Regions from separate parts of the Homo sapiens genome. Here regions 1 and 3 are each linked to region 2. Evidence: promoter capture Hi-C in 16 types of primary human blood cells and fetal thymus (Javierre and others, 2016). All regions are on one chromosome and are shown on one strand. Each heading gives the region's core, a stretch centred on a gene start or on the middle of the fragment in contact. The rest is flanking DNA. Distances are from core to core; before and after follow the strand shown. Region 1 overlaps RGL1 (ral guanine nucleotide dissociation stimulator like 1). Region 2 holds the start of APOBEC4 (apolipoprotein B mRNA editing enzyme catalytic polypeptide like 4). Region 3 overlaps COLGALT2 (collagen beta(1-O)galactosyltransferase 2).

Evidence for each region. Contacts are between HindIII fragments. The CHiCAGO score rates a contact against its expected background, and 5 or more counts as called.
Region 1: a contact is called between a fragment that was not itself captured here and the fragment with the promoter of APOBEC4 in region 2, in 16 of 17 cell types (megakaryocytes, naive B cells, naive CD8 T cells and 13 more). The highest score is 38.5, in megakaryocytes.
Region 3: a fragment that was not itself captured here is called in contact with the fragment with the promoter of APOBEC4 in region 2 in 16 of 17 cell types (naive B cells, naive CD4 T cells, M2 macrophages and 13 more); the score reaches 12.5 in naive B cells.

What each region holds. Positions count from the first base shown.
Region 1 is chr1:183,915,523-183,920,186 of GRCh38, forward strand. RGL1 (ral guanine nucleotide dissociation stimulator like 1) reads left to right here. Exons shown (of 18, transcript NM_001297671.3): 16 at 925-1,179. Among named protein-coding and RNA genes, the nearest start is that of RGL1, 110 kb to the left of the region's middle. RefSeq lists an enhancer at 523-712 and a silencer at 3,264-3,453. The HindIII fragment of the contact is 428 bases long and covers 2,062-2,489 here.
Region 2 is chr1:183,650,388-183,654,608 of GRCh38, forward strand. It overlaps APOBEC4 (apolipoprotein B mRNA editing enzyme catalytic polypeptide like 4), which reads right to left and starts at 2,929. Exons shown (of 2, transcript NM_203454.3): 1 at 2,685-2,929. It also overlaps a transcript of RGL1 not described here. The HindIII fragment of the contact is 5,397 bases long and covers 1-3,721 here.
Region 3 is chr1:183,934,670-183,939,184 of GRCh38, forward strand. It overlaps COLGALT2 (collagen beta(1-O)galactosyltransferase 2), which reads right to left. Exons shown (of 12, transcript NM_015101.4): 12 at 1,165-4,368. The coding sequence ends at 4,092. Among named protein-coding and RNA genes, the nearest start is that of COLGALT2, 100 kb to the right of the region's middle. The HindIII fragment of the contact is 1,720 bases long and covers 731-2,450 here.

The sequences.
Region 1 (4,664 bases), core at 1,026-3,525, 260 kb after region 2:
AATGTATACAGTTGGCTCTACTAGCAAATGTGGAAAGTGGTGAAGCTGCTTAAAGGCTGTATTTCCCTTGAGCAAGTCACTTTTATATTCTGAATCTTATTCTCCTCGTCTTTATAATGCTCTGCATTTTGTTCACAAGACAGTTGTGGAATTAAAATGGGATAAGATAATATGAAAGTTCATGATAAGCCTCACAGTACTAAACATACCGAGGTAGCAGCATACTATGTTGATTCATCTTATTGTCATCAGCCACAGGCTGAGCCTTGGCCATGTGCTTGCTCTGGGAACTCGACAGTGGGAATCAGGGAGCTTGGGTTCCTGTTCTAGGGGTGCTGTCAACTAGCTGTGTGGACCTGGAGCCCCAGTTTTCTCCCTGGGTCTCAGGTTCCTCAGCAGAACAGGTATGGGACTAGTTGATGTCCAAGGCCTTTCTAGCACTAATATTCAATGCAGAGCCGTATAATCTGGGGTACTTCTCTTAGAAACTTCTAAAAATACAGAACTTTCTCTCTCACTACGAAATCTGACTGCAGTAGGACTGAATCAACTGCGTTGGCAAGGCTTTCCTCCAGCCCCGTAAGCTTCTGACTTCTTTGGGAACCCATATTGCCTCCAGTTTCTGGTGTCTGCTGCCACCTGCTGGTTAACTTCTATAAGAACAGCTAAAACCTAGGGAAATAGAACTGCTTTGCCTCACGTGCTTATAGAGTGATTAGGTCACACTGAGTCACCGATAGGCATCTACCACTGATGGGGACTCAGAGTACTTACACCAGGGATGAGACACATGTGTGCTGTGGGCTGTTGTGGAGGAAATAACTGCAGTCTATCAGTCTTGATATCTACCTCTGCTTTGAAAATTGCAAAGCTGTTGGCCAGCGTTCTAATCTGTTTTCTTCTGGGGTGTGTTTACTCTTCCAGCTCTCTGAGTCCTCCTCATCCTGTTCTTCTATCCATTCCATGGACACAAATTCCTCAGGGATGTCTTCCTTAATCAACCCCCTCTCCTCCCCTCCGTCCTGCAACAACAACCCCAAAATCCACAAGCGCTCTGTCTCGGTGACGTCCATTACCTCGACTGTGCTGCCTCCTGTTTACAACCAACAGAATGAAGACACCTGCATAATCCGCATCAGTGTGGAAGACAATAACGGCAACATGTACAAGAGCATCATGGTGAGGAGCAAGCCCTGACCCAGGAGCGGGTTTCCATTTAGATTGTGTGTCTGTGTCTGTCGGCCGCTCAGACTAATAGCCCTAAATATGCACACTCAATATTAGCATATACATATATGCATTCACACAGAAGGGATGTGTGTCAGTTCCAGGTCTCCCTGGGCATAGATGCTGAATGATATATGTATATAAAATATATATACATATATATGCACACACATGGTGTATATAGGATATAATTTTCACATCTTAAAGAAATGCTAAAACTTATTCGTTTAGGTCAGTATTAGCCATTTGAAAATTCTCAATTTGGGTGACAGTGTAAATGTGCTCCAGGGAGGATGACACAACCTCACACATTTTTGGAAGCCTTCCTATGGAATTATATGTCTGGTTTTATCATTGAATTTCCACACATTCTTAGCAGTGTACTCCCCTGATGGCAGATTTTTGTCATTTAGTCATTTGGATCAAACCTAGTTAATAAAGTGGATGATCAAGCTAGAAATACAGTTTGGGTTAATGAGGAACGATGCCTATAAAATGAGACTGACCTTTTTGAGCTTCTTGTAAAATCTGTGTGTTTCTGAGGACAATTGCAAAGATATTTTTAATAATGGCAGTCTTTTGGGAATACACACAGAGCCTCTCATGGCGATAACCTTGGGTATGTGAGGTCTGGTAGGTTTATCACAAGAATATAAACTCCTTAGTTTATGGGAGATAATCATGTATTGGAAATCACTTTATCCTTTGCAGCAAAATCCCACAGCTAATTCCACATCTCTCCTCATCTTTATCACTCGCCTCTTTGAAGGCACACTCAGTGCTTACAAGCTCAGGTCTGAATATGGCATAAGTGGTATGGAGGCTCCACATAAAAGCTTTGCTAAAGCATTTATTGAGTCAACAAAATATCAAACATTTATTGCGTTCTAGTCATTAGATCAGGCTTTGGGGATAGGGAGATGAGTGAGACATTTCTGCCTTTGAGGAACTTTTAATTAGAAAGGGAGCCCACAAAGCATTATTCACAATGTGCAAAATAATAGAGCCAAGATCAGGTGGTAAAGGGCCTTGTGGCCCACACAGAGGAGTGTGTTAATCCCGCAGGCAATAGGGTCTTGTTGAAGGCTTTTAAGTAGTGATGGGATTTGCTCATTAAGAAAGTCATGGCACTGTGTTTGCTGGAGTGTCGGGGTAGACTGGAGGCGGGGAAGCAAGTTAGGAAGCTGCTATCATGTTCCATGTAGGAGAGGATAAGGGCTTGAATGACGGTCATGTGGCTGGAGATGGTGAGGATTTTTGAAAGCTTTTGATGAGGTAGAATTGTAGAATCCATTCATTTAGTTACCAACTTTTTGGTTACTGTTGTGGAGGACTAGAGGCTGTCTGGGTAGTTGGTGGGTCTGTGAGATATGAACTACCAGAGGAGGATATTCAGGGACATTTAAATCAGAGGTACCAGTATGACATCAGATGGCATTGTCTGATAGATGGTCAGAAACATGGGCTGGTGCAAGGCTGGTGCTGAGATCAAATACTGGGAGTTGTCAAACCCCACAGGGGGGACGTGGTCTCGCGAGACTGAGTGTAGGATGAGGCAGAATGCAAGTGGTAATGAGGGAGGGGCTAATAAAGGAGCACCCGAGAGGTAGAGGAAACACAGGGAAGCCAAGGTCCTCCATGTGGTTACTGCCTGCTCAGCATGGTCTGTTCACCTGGCACCTCTTACCTGCACCAATCAGAGAGAATGTCCACTGCATAACTCTACAGTGTCTCTGAATTATAGCATGGATTTGTACACCAAACAGTTATGTTTTGGGACATGCCTGGTCAGCGTGCACTCTGCTCAGTCTGGGGGGAACTGTGAGTGGTTGGACTGCACAAACCTCTACTGCCCAGGAGGAGTCACAGGTTGTGCATGCTGTCTGAGTGTTGGGAGGGTAGTGAGCAGAAGATCCCCTGCCCCCTGCTCTGAGATTCCTCCTTCCCCAGCAAATGGGCTGCCTCTGTGAGAATCACCTCTCCTGCCAACCCCTTCCTGTGGCCCTTTATATTGCACCAGGTGGTGGCACTCACCTTTCATGAAAATCCTGCCAGCGCATGTCACAGGCTTATTCTGGAGAGACGACACACTGCTCTCGTGCTCTCATTCTAATCGTTAGGCCTCTCAGGAGAAACCTTGCTCACAGGACGTACCTTTCTGAAATGTATTATGCTGTGTGCTGTTGACCAGAAGATGGAAATAAATCAGTCCAGGTTCAGGCGAGACTAGCAGTTCTCAAACTTTTTGTTCTCAGGACCCCTTTATACTCTGAAACAGCATTGAATATTCCAAAGAGCTCCAGACTATGTGGGTTGTATCTGTTGATATTTACCACATTAGATATTTAAACTGAGAAACTTTCAAAATGTTGATTAATTCATTTAAAATAACAATAATGAACACATTGCATGTTAATGTAAATTTTATTTTTTAATGAAAAATATCTATTTTTTTCCAAAAATTATTGAGTGAGAAGTGTGGCATTGTTTTCCATTTCTGAAAGTCTGTTAAAATGTGAGTGAGACTGGCTTTGTTTTGTTTTGTTTTTGTTTTTACTGTGAGTACAGGGTACTGAAGAATACAGTGACAGCTAGTAGATTTGTAGTTAGAAACCACTGGACCGATTTGTGCTGTTGTGCCAGCAATTCCATCCACCATAGCTTCTGCAATACCTATGCAAATGTCAACACAAAGAAAAGACAAACAGCATCTTAGTATTATCATGAAAATAATTTTGATCTCATGGATCCCCTCACAGATTTCAGGGACCCCACGGGCCATAGATTGCACACTGAGAACTGGTGGCCTAGAGAACTTGCTTTGCAAGAGCAACTAATGTCCCTGGAATCCAAGGCCCTTCCATAGAAGAAGAGACAGCAATTAGCCCTTGTAAAATTACCTCCTCAGTGACCATGGAAAAATGTCTTCTACCACTGAACCCATCACTCTTTCGAAATGATCTTTCTCTCCATTGTGTCAATCACAGAGTCAGTCTCCCAAGATCCCTTACACAGGGAATGCAGTATTTCTGTCACAGGAAAGTCAATGAGGGCGACACCAAAGCATCGTTCAGTACCGCGCATTCAGTACAGCAGCCACTGGCCACGGGTGGCGATGGAGCATTTGAAATGGGAATACTCCAAATTGAGATGAGCTGAGGGTAAAATATATACCAGATTTTGAACACTTAGTACAAAAAAGTAAAATACTGCATTAACAATTTTTGTATTGATTATATATGCTGATGTAATATTTGGGGTGTTCAAGTTAAATATCACCTTTCAAAAACTTTTTTTTTTTTTGAGGCAGAGTCTTGCACTGTTGCCTGGGCTGGATTGCAATGGCACGATCTCAGCTCACTGCAACCTCTGCCTCCCTGGTTCAAGCGGTTCTCCTGCCTCAGCCTCCTGAGTAGCTGGGATTACAGGCACCCACG
Region 2 (4,221 bases), core at 1,679-4,178:
AAAAAATTAGCCAGGTGTGGTGGCATGCGCCTGTAGTCCCAGTTACTCGGGAGGCTGAGGCAGGAGAATAGCGTGAACCCAGGAGGCAGAGCTTGCAGTGAGCCAACATCCCACCACTGCACTCCAGCCTGGGTGACAGAGCGAGACTCTGTCTCAAAACGAAAAACAAAAAACACAATATTCATGGCTAATTAGTTTTTTATTATGTAACTGTAACATTCAGTTTCTTGCCTCTTTTAATTATTATAACACTTTGATAAATATTTCTGTGAGAAATTATCTATTGCATATATTATATAATATTTATTATAAAGAATCAGATTTTTTTTTTTTTTTAGAATAGATTACTAGAAATCATAGTATTAGGTCAAACATTGTCAAATCGCTTCCTAGGAAGGTGTACCAATCTTATCACATTCTCTTACAATGTTGTTTATCCCAATTTGAGAAGGGAGCATTGGTATTTTTTTGTTGCTATAATGTGTGCCTTTATTATTTCTAGTGAAGTTGAACACTTTTTGACATGCTTATTGGTCTGTGGTATTTATTCTTCTGTGAAATATATTTGATTTTTTACCTATTTTTTGCGTGAAGTTTTCCTTATTGGTTTGCAAGACATTTTTATGCATCAAGAATATTAAATCTGCCACATTTGCTGCTAATATTTTACCTGGTTTATACAGCCTTTTAATTATGCCAATGTTATTTTAATTGCACCAAATTTTACATTTTTATGTGGTCCAGTCTCTACTCCTGTGATTTTTTTTCTTATTGTATTTAGAAATGCCTTCCTCATCAAAGCATAATTAAGTATTCCCCATATTTTCTTCTAGTATTTATGGTTTCATTTTTTACATTTAACTTTGTCAGATAACAAAACTGATAAGGCAGAAAATTTAAATGAGGTAAACTGACCATTGCAACAGAATATATTTTTCACTTTTCAAAATCTCACTTATCATATCACAAGTATGAATACTTGTGCTAATAAATAAATTATGGCCTCTCATATGGAAGTGCTATGTTCACCTTCTGTCTTCCTCAGCCCACATCAGCTCATTCATTGCTGTATTTGATACAGCTTGATCTCTAGCCTGAAACCTGCAGAGTTCCTATGCTAATCCTATCCTGGGCAGAAAATATGTTAAAAGCCTCAATCCAGCTGTAGGTGGAATGTAGCTTTATTCATGTCACCATTATCTTAGTGGCTAATATCCTGCAGTAACTCTGGCACCACATACCCACCAGATTCTAGATTTCTCCTAGCCTCTGCTGTGTCATCTTAATCCATAGGATTGGACATTAGCTTTGTTTTTTCCTTAGTACTATATTTTCCTGATGTAACTGAATTCCTGCCTTGAGGCTTCCTAGACCTTGTCATAGCTTTCCTTCTAGAGAGCTGGATTTAACCCTTGGCAGTGGACGATCTCTTGGAACCTGACGCCATTTCCTGCTTACTCCCGAGCATTGTTTCCTCTCTGGACCTCCTCCTTGCTTAGCCTTCATCAGGCTGGATGGATCTCTCCATCAGAACTTGCCAAAACCAAGCCCAAACTTTCATGCTTTTTAATATTGTGCCCTTGATGTGGTCGACTTATGGGTGGTACACCGGACATCCAGGTTACTGCTCAGATTACAATTTCAACTCACCCATAGACAATTTACAGATTGATTTGGCTAAATGTTATGGAAACAGAACCAAAAGGCACTTTTCTGTCTTTATTACTATTTCTTAAGGTGATGTGTATGTGGAGTTAACTATATATAATGGTCCCATAATTACCCTTTTGGGAAACAAAAGTCTTTGTGTGTTTTTAGATAAAGGTAGCAAAATGGAAACTCCCTATTGCTTTTCTAAGCACGCCTTCCTTTGCACCCCCATCTTCTGTGGCTGTTTTAGCCAGAAATGATACATCATTACTGTCTTTAAGGAGATGGAGAGGACTGTGGCTTTAACACATAGTGGAGGGAGCTCTGTAGTCTCATTCTTGCTGACAACTTTTCAGTGTCAACCAACTATAGTTTCCTATTGGTGAAGTTTTCACTTTTTCAGAGTCTTTCTGGGCTTGTTCTTTGATCACCCTCATCTGAAGAGGAAGCAGGAAAGAACTGTTGCCCTCTTTGAACTCTTAGAGAATTCATGGTTTATTGTATCAATTTGTTATCGACCACAGATTATCTTGTTAACTTTTGGTATCTGTCATTTTATTCTCCCCAACCAGGTGGAAATGTACCCTGTTTAGGCCCAGGACCTACCTTAGCAACCTTGATTGGCTCACAAGCCAGGTTGCTTAAGACTTGTTTCCCCAGCAGCTGGTGTCCCTACTTCCTGCCTAGCCCTTTTCCTTTTGCTTTGTCTGTGCTTGGGAAATACATGTTATACTCTGTAGAGCAGATTTGCTGGCAGTAAGAACAGAGATGTGTAGAGCCCAGCGTGCTGGAGGGCTCTCTGCATCTGGCTGTGAGTGGCCCCTGGACTGGGACCGTGGGAGGACAGCTTTCCATAGTTTAACATAAATGAACCACACCATAAGGACAATCTGCTCTCATTTCACTCAACTAGGATTTAGTGAGTACTGTTAAAGCACAGTTTGCACTGGAGTAATTGGAGAATGGAGTTTGCCCTTCACAATCTGTGCACAATCTGTTAGCAGCTAAAAACAAATGTTAGCAGTTATAATTACCATCAATTTGTCTCCAGGCTTGGATCACATTCCAGGTGTTAGAAGAGATGGTCCATTTCCTTTTTTTTCTCCTTTAAGTCCCATGCCCTGTTTCAAGTAGCTTCAGAAGGCAATTGTGCTGTAAAGATTCACCTTGTAATGGGTTCAGGACTCTTTCACAGTTTGTGTCTATTCGTTCATTTGAACTTTGCTGTTCCAAGTTAGAAAGCCCTTGCTGAGGTGTGGCTACCTCTAAGAACACTGTTGATTGGGTGCCATGGTAACGTTTGCAAAGTAGCTACTGCTAGGATACAGCTCTGACACTTATTACTTTATTTGCATATCAAGCCACCTGTTCCAAAGATGAAAATATACAGGACTGCATATCCCAGTCTGGGTAAAAGGATAATAGCTGACTGTTGAAGAGAACATGTTGCAGTTTTTCTCCTGCTAGCTGAAGAATCAAGTTCTGAGGGCCTGCTCCTCAGCACCTTTCTCCTGGTCTAGAGTAGGTGCCAGGCCTGGCGGTTCTGTTGCCTGCGTGGGTGCCAGGGCTTCTCCTTGGGAGGCTTGCCCTCTGTGAGAGGGAGCAGAGAGTTGACTTCCTCCAAGAGGCCCATAGTCCCTGAAGGGGGTGTTTTTGATTCTGTCTAAACCTAGGCTATGTGTTAGCGGTTTCCCTCCTCTTAGAAATTGCCTGGAAGACTCTTGCTATTGGTATGTATGTGGTTCCCTCCAGTTTAAGACAAGATTTGTTCCAGGATCGGTTGTAGCCCCTTCTCTGTGGCTAACGGAAGAGCCACTTGTCCTTCTCCATTCTTTTCCTTAGTCTCCCTTGACCCCCACATCATCTCCTAGACACAAGGCACATTGATAGTCACAATTCACTGTCAATCACTCTGGATTATTCCCTCATTCCCCTTTCCCAGGCCACCTGAAGGAGTGAGTGGGGATTGCTATTGTGTACATTCCAGTAATAACTATTGGCTGTAAGCAGACATACTCTAAAAATAACTCAGGGATACTGAGCACCCAGAGGGCACCTTCTGTCTTCTCGAAGCTTCGCCACGCCTGTTTCCACTGTCAGACTTCCAGTCTGCACCACAGCACACATCCTTTCTCATCCAGAGTGCTCCTACTAGACGAGATGTTTTTGTCTCCTAAGGGCCTCAGGTGTATTCATGAACTCCTCAGCTGGTTATTTTCAGTTTCATCTTCCTTGGTGCTTGCTCTGGCACATGGTCACTGCTGCATCCTGTCCCTTCCCCACAGTTTGCCATGGGTCATCCCTTTTTTCTCATTGCTTGCATCTTCTAACTGAATGAACTTGTAAATATGGAACTGAAAGTCAATCCTCATAGCTCATCTTTTATTTAATCCTAATAAATGACAATCTATTGCAAACATTACTTTAAAAATATTACTTATCAAAAGCTGGGTGAAAGGATAATAGCTGACTGTTGAAGAGAACATGTTGGGGTTTTTCTCCCGCTAGCTGAAGAATCAAGTTCTGAGGGCCTGCTCAGTTCTGTAAGAAAGTATTAGCTGTCTGACAGGT
Region 3 (4,515 bases), core at 341-2,840, 280 kb after region 2:
TTGGCAAGAATGTCTCAAAAGCACGTTATAGAAAGCCTCCTGGGAAGACACATCTTTATTTTATAGTTACTAGCGGGAGGGATTTGCTCCAATCATAAGGGAAAAACCATAAGATTCCCAAATTTGTAGCTGAGTGGGAATATTTCTTGTTTTGGACATCAACATTTTACTGGAAGCCTCTGTATTATCTGTCAAGATGGTAACCAAACTTAGAATTCTCCCAGAAATGCTGGGCTCTGTGCTTATGATGAGACAGCCCTGAGAAGGAGACAGCCCTGAGAGGGAGGCAGCCAACTTGCCTTGCCAGCATGATTGTGTCTCAGTCTTGTTTGTTATCAACCCCAACACATGCCTAACTCTTCTGCCCTACTGAGTTCCCATGAATCCCACTTTGGCCCTTTCATAGTCCTGTCAGGCAATGCCTGGACAGCATCTCCACCCACTGTGCCCAGCCCTCCTCCCTCTTCTGAACTCCAATTCATCCTCCAAAACCCAACCCAAATGTCACCTTCTCAGCAGAGCTGCCCTGACAGTCCTCCTCTGCCCATTTTGTTCATCTCTGAAATAAAACCATCCTGTTTGGCAGCCACCTGCTTTATGTTGCTCCTCCATTGGACTGCGGGCCCCACACAGCAGTAGGGACCTTACCTACTTCTCTGAGCATCTCAGTGCCCAGCACAAAGCCTGCAGCAAGGCAGTGTTCACAGCCTGGTTTTTGAGATTAGGGGTAAGCTTGATCTAAAAATTCAAGCAGTCACTGAGATCAACAAGGATTTTCTTTTTGTTGCTGCTGTTATTTTTCCCCAGGAAAAAGCTCTTTGGCCTTGGACTGGTATCACAGTATCTCAGTATCTTTTGATGAACGGATAGGCTGACCTGTAGCACAAAATGCAAGATGGACACCTCCACTCCCTCCCAGTGGGGGCTCTCTTCCATCTTTCTGTACCTTGGAATCCTTTTCAGCTTACATAACAGTACCCATCAGTTTAAAACAACCCTCACTGCACAGTAAGGGCAGCAACCACCCTCCCCTCATTTGCCATGGGGATCACACAGCAGTGATGGTTCCCCCTGACTCTGACATCCTTGGTCAAGGGCAGACCTGGTAATCTCTGCAGCGTTGGCCATTGATCAGTGCCTGCGGAAGCAATTGACAATCATATCTTTGAGCTAAGTTTTTTTTTAATTTTTCACAAAGAGCTCCAGAAGGCAAATAGTTTATCACTTCCCCACTCTGAAATAGCACGCAAGACAGATGATGCAGGGGAACGGGTGTCCACTCTTTCTTGTTCTCAGAGCTCCTGCAGCAGGCCTGAATGAACCGCAAGCGGGGCCCATGCAGCGTGTCCTCTGCAAAGTGCAGGTGTTCAGTCCACACACAGCAGCACCAGCACTGCTGATGTCACGGTTGTCTGTCCAGAAGATCCCACGTTAGATCCCAAGAGAAATCCAGACAGGGTTTAGCCTCCAGAGGCAGAGAGCGGGTGCCAGGCCCAGATGCAAAGGCCTCTATACTGACGCCCTCACATGACACTGCAAAGGTCAAATGTCAAAGGTCAAATGTCTTGGCTTAGGACTATAAGGGAGAGATAGGACAAATAATGAGGTCAAGGAACCTCTGGATTGCTGAAGAGATGACTTTAAAAAAAAAGTCACATCTGCGGCTCACAGTGTTCACCAGAAAAGAACACTGCTTGGGATTCTAGACCTGAGCAGGGAGAAACAAACCGGGCTAAAGGAGACAGAACTTTCTTCACAGTAGAACAGTCCTAGTCTAAAATGCTAGAATTTAAGTCCAAAGTCTTTTAAGAATGAGAGTTCTTAAATCTGTCAGACCAGCTGACAGGGGAACAGGAAAAAAAAAATTCTCTATTAAACAAAACACCACAAAAATCAACCCAAACTTCCTTCAACCCCAGCACCCCAGCCACCTCCCACCCCATTAAAAAAGTCATTAAAGTCATGCACACATGCACACACTCAAATATGAAAACAAAAACCAGATACCCAAGGAAATCTTAGGAATCACCTAAGGAATTTTCACTCGCTCCCCAGATGCTCTTTCTGTTTTTCTGGGGGTGGGTGGGAAAGGAAGTCACACTGACAGCTAAGTCTAAGCGGCACAATTTAGAGTTGGGTGAGTTCCCTTTCCTCCAGCGGCCTAGCTTGCTGGTCAGTGTAGAAGGGTACCCACAGTGAGTCGGGAAGGAAGGCCGAGGCTGGCGTCTGGTGGAAGGCAAGCTGCCTCTTGTCCTAAAGTGGGGACCCGCCCCTCACCTGGGGAGATGAGGCTGCCTTGACTACCTATTTGGTGATGAGACAGCTTGGTGATCACTTTCTCTAGACTCTGAGCCATGCTGTTCAACCTTAATGTGGCAATCAGTATCACATGGGCAGTGAACTGAAGAATTAGGTGTCTGGCTTAAAGTGTATCTTACACTCGTACACTAAGCTTGTGTATGTAGCACCACCCGCCTGTGGACTCTGCTCTGAAGGGCCCTCCCCATGAGTTTAAGTGTGAAGCTCAGGGTTTGGGGTGTGCACGGCCCCCCATATGGCTGCATGGTGCATGGACAGTGATGAGGAACGGTGCTGGTATGGGATGCCTGGGAGGGTTTTTCTGGAGACAAAAATTTACAGATTGAGGGCATGAGAACATAAACTTGAGGGAAACCACCATGATCTATACTAGGATGACAGATTGTGGAGTGGGAAGAAATCGTGTAGTCCAACTCTGCATTTTACATAAAATCAATCTGTGAAGAAAGCAGAAAGGACTCTTAGGGGATATCTTTTGAGAAAGGGTGTCCGCCTGGGATTCTAAGAGCTTCCCTGGTTGCTGGCCTAAATCAGGTGACCAGCCCTTTGTTTCTGACCAGGTTTCTCACCTGAGATAGAGAATCATTTGTTTCCAAATAGTTCAAATCCCCCCATCCACAGGCCTCCCCACAAGAGCCTGGCTGGGAAATTCAGGAGAATCAGATTGCCGAACCAATGTGTCCACACCCACCACTCCCCCGGGTGCCGTGGAAGTCTGCAACATCTGTTTCTCTGCCTTATCCTAAAGACAATATCTTCGCCCATTTTGTAAAATAAATAATTCAAAATATAATGAAAAAACTCTGGCAAGGATAGTTGCTGGCCTGAAAATGTGCTCTGTCTCTTAGCAGTGACTCACAGAACTCACACCTGCGGTGGGTTCCCAGGCTAAGGGGTGGAGCGGAGAGCGTGAAGCTCTGTAGCAGCGCGCAAACCCGGGACAGGGCAGGATGCACAGCCAGTCCTCACCCTTTATATATTACATTTATCTTTATAAATAGAGCATCCTGACTCGAGTGGCCATAATAAAAAAGCCAAACATTGAGTTTTTTCCCTCAAATACCTACACAAACTGTCAAATATCTACTAAATTATATCCACATGGCAAACTGGTCACCTCTATATGAGAACTCCAACTGCCATGATGGTCACAGGCCAAGTCTCAGTCGGACCCAAATACCCACCCCTACTGGATAACAGGGACTAAGATTTTTTTTTTTTAAAAAATCTACTTTTCAATAAGACTTGTGACAGAATCCTTTAAATAAAAAGCCAAATAAATATGATTTTAAGTGATTCCTGTCCCCCAAAAGTTGCACACACAAGTTTTCAATGTCATATAAAACGGACAAACTAGACCAATAAGTGTGGTCTAGTTGGCCTGGCTGCCTTGACTACATATTTGCTGATGTGACAGCTCGGTGATCACTTTCTCTTGAACAAGACTCTGAGCCATGTTGTTCAACCTTAATGTGGGAATCAGTATCACATGAGTAGTGAACTGAAGAATTAGGTGTCTGGATTACAGTTTATCTTAACAGTTTCCAAAAAACCTGTCTTTCAGCCGTCTTGGGAAATTTGGGTTGAATTTCCTTATTTCCTTCCATGGTCAAAAATATGTTAATTTCGATCTATCACACTAGATCACTTTGGTTAGATGACTGTGACCACTAAGAACAAAACAAAACAGAAAACTGGAGCAAACAGATGAATAGCCCTTTAGAAAAACCAGAGGATGTTGAACTGATGTGGGCCACACTCCCAGGGAGCCTTCATAGCTCATCCCTTGAAGGCACAGTGTCCAGGGAGGTTGGCGGTGGCAGGGCCTCTGTGTTCTTGGCATTGCTGTAGATGCGGCTTTGCTTCCGGGACTTCCAGGCATGTGTCCTATCCCAGTCGGTGGCCACTGTCTCATTGTCCCAGATGGTGGAGGTCTCCGTGTCACTCAGGTACCCCGGCTGGCCTGTGTAGTGCGTAGGGTAGATGAGCAAGGGTTCTGCAGAGAAGGCTTTCAGGTCCCTGGATTCATAATACTCCTTGTACTCGGCTCTGAAAACAAGAAGGTGGCCGGACACATGAGGGGGCGGAAAGGAGACTTACGGAACAGGGACAAAGAGTGAAGGAGGCCTCCTGGTTACCTCATGAGTTCATTTCATTATTTCAATTGTGTCATTTGTGAAAAACTTTAGCCTACAA